Regions from separate parts of the Homo sapiens genome. Here region 2 is linked to region 1. Evidence: promoter capture Hi-C in 16 types of primary human blood cells and fetal thymus (Javierre and others, 2016). All regions are on one chromosome and are shown on one strand. The core of a region is centred on a gene start or on the middle of the fragment in contact, and the rest is flanking DNA. Distances in the headings are between cores, read along the strand shown. Region 1 holds the start of PIWIL3 (piwi like RNA-mediated gene silencing 3). Region 2 overlaps KIAA1671.

Region 1 (2,578 bases), core at 58-2,557:
AATCTCCGTTGCAAAACTTAAGATCAGTGCTTGAGATATTTTGCATACCCTGAATTCCGATGCAGCAGATGACACCACCCAGACTGATAATCTGGCTCAACCAGTCCTGCGATCTCATCCAGGAAGAGAAATCAGCAAGAACTCACTTCCACCCCCATGATTCCATCTCCAACCCGACCAATAAGCACTCCCTACTTCCTGAGCCCATACCCACCAAATCATTTTTAAAAACTCTGATCCCCGACTGGGCATGGTGGCTCACGCCTGTAATCCCAAGGTGGGTGGATCACTTGAGGTCAGAAGTTTGAGATCAGCCTGGCCAATATCATGAAACCCCGTCTCTACTGAAAATACAAAAATTAGCCTGGTGTGGTGGCATGCACCTGTAATCCCAGCTACTCAGGAGGCTGAGTCAGGAGAATCGCCTGAACCCGGGAGGCGAAGGCTGCAGTGAGCAGAGATCACATCACTGCACTCTAGCCTGGACGACAGAACGAGACTCCATCTCAATAAATACATAGAGATATAAATAAAATAAAATAAAATAAAGTTTCTTAAAAAAAATAGGAAATCTCCTGAAAAACCTTTTCAGAAAAATAGCCACAGGTGCATGTTTGGCTCGTGTTTTTCCCAGAAACAACCTAAATCTGGCTTGATAAACCTTGATTGATGTATTTGCCCCAGTCACTCATGTTGTAACCAGCAAAAGGGCCCAGCTGCTCACTGCTTGTAGAAAGAAGTCAAAATGATAATGACATGTGATTTAAAAAGAAAGAATTTTATAATCTATGCTAGCAAGGGCAAGAGCAGAGAGCAATTCCACTCTTCCACGTGAGGAAAGAACGCAGGGGTTTTTTTTGTTTGTTTTTTGCGACGGTGTCTTGCTCTGTCGCCCAATCTGGCTGGAGTGCAGTGGCGCAATCTCAGCTCACTGCAACCTCCGCCTTCTGAGTTCAAGCGATTCTCCTGCCTCAGCCTCCCGAGTTGCTGGGACTACAGGCACATGCCACCATGCCCAGCTGATTTTTTGTATTTTTAGTAGAGACGGGGTTTCCCCGCGTTAGTCAGGATGGTCTCCATCTCCTGACCTCGTGATCCTCCGGCCTTGACCTCCCAAAGTGCTGCGATTACAGACGTGAGCCACTGCGCTCGGATGAACGCAGGGGTTTTTATTTATTTTATTTTATTTTTTAAGATATTTATTTATTTGTTTATTTTTTGAGACAGAGTCTCACTCTTTCACCCGGGCTGGAGTGCAGTGGCGTGATCTCGGCTCACTGCAAGCTCCGCCTCCCGGGTTCACGCCATTTTGCTGCCTCAGCCTCCCGAGTAGCTGGGACTACAGGTGCCCGCCACCACGCCCGGCTAATTTTTTGTATTTTTAGTAGAGATAGGGTTTCACTGTGTTAGCCAGGATGGTCTCCATCTCCTGACCTCATGATCTACCCGCCTCAGCCTGCCAAAGTGCTGGGATTACAGGCGTGAGCCACCGCGCCCGGCCAAAGCGGTTTTTAAAGGGAGGATTTGGAAGGCAAAAGAGGCAGGGGGACTGGGAGGTGTCAGGTGGTGTGACCCCCTCCAGTGGCTTGTCCTGAATTATTTTTCCATCTGTGGAAGTGGCCGGCGTCATCATGGCTGGAGGAGGTGCATGGTTCGTATCAGGATCTGACTACTGAAGCTTCTAAGGAAATATGTGACCAGATAAGTGAGTATGGTGTGTGCTTACCAAACAACTAGGTAAATAAATGTGCATAAGGCATGGGGGCATAGAACAGGAAAAGAAAGGGGGTGGAGGTTCACAGCACATTCCAAGGCTGGATTTCAAGAGGAGAGGAAACACGTCTATACTTTGTCTAAGTTACATCTTCAGATTAGCAGAAGAGAGGAAAGGGGAAAGGAAAAAAAGTTTTAAAATGCGGTTTGAGGTTAGGCTGCTAAGCTGCTGGGTTACAGATTCAGCTTATATTTGAGCATGTGGAGTATGTATATTTATTTTAAAAATCTAGAGCATCTTGGTCAGCCACAGTGGCTCATGCCTGTAATCCCAGCACTTTGGGAGGCTGAGGCGGCTGGACCATGAGGTCAGGAGTTCAAGACCAGCCTGGCCAAGATGGTGAAACCCCGTCTCTACGAAAAATACCAAAATTAACTGGGCGCAGTGGCGGGTGCCTGTAGTCCCAGCTACTTGGGAGGCTGAGGCAGGAGGATTGCTTGAACCTGGGAGGCGGAGGTTGCAGTGAGCCAAGATCGCACCACTGTACTCCAGCCTGGGCAACAGAGTGAGTGAGACTCCCATCTCAAAAAAAAAAAAAAAAAAAAAAAATCTAGAGTGTCTTGTACATATCCTTTAATAACCTACTTTTAAAAACTTAATATATTTTAGATACATATGTATATGTGTACCTACTTACATCCTTAAAACTGACGTGATGATAAATAAAACCGCGGAATTTCTATCAATATGTAAATGCTCTTCTCAGAAAAGGCGGGCTCTTTGCTCCTGTGGTTGATGGGGATGATGCAGATGGTGGCAGAGGCTTCCATTTTTTGAGCATTCGTTGTGGGACCTGCCAGTGCT
Region 2 (2,578 bases), core at 55-2,554, 300 kb before region 1:
CCTCACTCCCCCAGGACCTGGTCACCCACAGAAAGCAGCGGACAAATGAAAATCTCTCTCATTATCACATCTAGGAAAGACTTTCTAAACTGCCTCATCCTACCTCTTCATGGTCCAGATGGGGAAACCAAGGCCCAGAGAGGAAAAGACTTGCCCAAGGTCACTAGAGAGGTGGGACACAGCCAGGTGAGGAGCTGTGACTCTGTCACTCCACAAAGCTGCCCCTAGGAGGCTGAGGGCATTACTGCCCAGCCTCTACTGGCCAGGATGAGCTTAGGCCAGTACCTGGAATGTACCATGGGCATGCCATGGGCTCTTGCTCTTTCTGACATCCACCCCAGCCCTTTGCACATGCTGTTCCCTCTGCCTGGCACACACTTCCCTGGACCCCTACCCTAGCATCAACTGCCAGCTCCTAGGCATCCTCCAGCACTCAGCTTCCTTGGGGAGGCTCTCCTGGCCCCTGCACCCCAACGAGACCATATCCCTTGAGGCACTGTGCACCACCCCCATCCTAACACATACATGGTCCTTGTTTCAGTTCCTTGAGCAAAGTCCAAATTCTCACCAGACTAAGTTCCATGCGGTCAGGGGACCATGCCGTCTTGCTCCTATATTCCAAGTATCTGGCGCTAGCTCCAAACTACTGCTGGTAAGTGTGTGCTGAATGAACATGAGATCGTAGCCATTTGTCAATGAGTTCAACACCTATGCCAAGCTCTAAGTTCTGGGGACCGTGGACTGTATCTTAGTCATCTCTGCATCTCCAGCATGGAGCCCAGAGCCCAACACGCAGCCAGGCACATCAAGGTTATCCAGACCTTGCAAACCACACAATTCAAAAATACGATTATTGGAGACTTCTTTTCTTCTTTGTGCCTGTCTGAATTTTCCATATCTTTTTACCATGCACATGCATTATTTTTGTAATTAAAACATCAATCAATCAATCAATCAATGTTGCCTTACATTTATTATATAAGAATGTTCATAGGCCAATGATTGAACAATATGGACTGGGGGGATCTCCTGTTTCCCCACTGCTCTGGGGGGCTCAGGAGGGAGGTGAGACACTCTGGGACTGGCGGCTAAAAGGCAATGTTTCCTAAAGTTGTATTTTTAGGAGCGCTGGAAAATTCTCTGGGCAAGAAGGCATCTGAAGTATTTGCAAACACTCAGCAATGGGAAAGATAATATTTCCTAAGACTTTCCCTTTTGGGTGTGCTGAAACCAGTGGCAAATATTCTGGAAAACTCTGAGACCAGCCCATGACAATTCTTCGGTAAGTCCCTCTATTCCCAGAGCCCTGATGGATGTCACACAACCCAGAATCACCTACACCCACTCCTTATTTCACAGAGGAGGAAACAGAAACCCAGAGAGGAGAAGTAACTTGCCCAGGCACAGAAAACAGACCAGTTGCGAAGTCAAAGTGAGACCTGAAAGCATTTTATACCTCACAAAGCACTTCTGCACAGCTTCCCTGACTTTGGCATTTCATCAGAAAATGTTCTGGTTTTTTTCCTCTGTTATCCAGAGGAGACAGCACAGTGTGAGTGTTAGTGGGGAAGGGGTCCCAACTTCTTCTATCACTGTGTAGGTTCAGGAAAAGGAAAGCAAAATCTATTATTTTCATCCCATAGAAGACAGACATTCTTACACACACAGAGGCAAGAGGGATGTAATTTCAGAATAAAGAATAGTCCTTTAAATCAAATAAATGTTGCTTTCTGAAAAACTCACTGAAGTGGTTCTCGTTCTTCCTGTTTTCTTGAGGACTGGAGGAAAGCCCACATCGGATCCAGGATCTTCATTCCTGTTCAGGAGTCTCAGCTCTTCCTACAAACCTGTGCTACCTCCCAAACCAAGCCCGTTTCCTTTTTCCCCAACATTCTCTCTTCCTTGTAACCTCCACCATTTCTTAAAGAAAACAGAGACATTGCTAACCAGACACAGCCAAAAAGCAAAGTTGACAGGAAGCAGGAGGAGAGGGAAAGGACGTGACCCCGTCCTGGAGCCTGCACTGCCCCCCGCCACTCACCCAGAGGTAGCGCAAGAGCTTCAGCAGGCTGGGGCAGTAGTAATACTCCATTTCCAGCACCCAGAGGTTATGTGGTGAGCACAGTACGGTTTCCAGCTTTCCTCTAGCGGGAGCGGCTCTTCTCACTCCTGTCACGCTGGAGTCAAGTTCAAGGCGGCATAAATCATTCAGAAGCCGGCTCACGGCCAGGGGACCAGCCAGTCGGCTCCACTAATGGCCACGGCTGCCTGGGGAACTGAGAAGCCACCACTCGGTCCTATGAGCCCCGCCCGGGGCATCTCTGGCTTCTCGTCCAGTGGGGCGGGTCCAGGGGTGGATCCTTCTGAACCCAGCTGCCTGGACCCTCACCCTCCCGGGAGCCGTAGGCACGGAGGGTTTTAGGGTTTTCAGTTGTACGGCAAGAAGGCAAGAAGAGAGAAGGTGATGCCCGGGAACTGAATGTGTGCACGCGTGTGTGTGTGTGTTTATGCATGAAGGAGTGTGTGTGTACATGCTTTTACGTGGAGTCAAGTATGTGTGCATGTGTGCATACGAGTG

What was found. The method cuts DNA at HindIII sites, captures the fragments that hold promoters and counts their contacts. A CHiCAGO score of 5 or more calls a contact.
Region 2: a fragment that was not itself captured here is called in contact with the fragment with the promoter of PIWIL3 in region 1 in 1 of 17 cell types (M0 macrophages); the score reaches 5.2 in M0 macrophages.

The regions. Positions count from the first base shown.
Region 1 is chr22:24,773,449-24,776,026 of GRCh38, reverse strand. PIWIL3 (piwi like RNA-mediated gene silencing 3) reads left to right here and starts at 1,307. Exons shown (of 21, transcript NM_001255975.1): 1 at 1,307-1,705. The HindIII fragment of the contact is 5,025 bases long and covers 1-1,680 here.
Region 2 is chr22:25,069,880-25,072,457 of GRCh38, reverse strand. All of the region lies in intron 6 of KIAA1671, which reads right to left. Among named protein-coding and RNA genes, the nearest start is that of KIAA1671-AS1, 42 kb to the left of the region's middle. RefSeq lists an enhancer at 2,285-2,578. The HindIII fragment of the contact is 2,931 bases long and covers 1-2,578 here.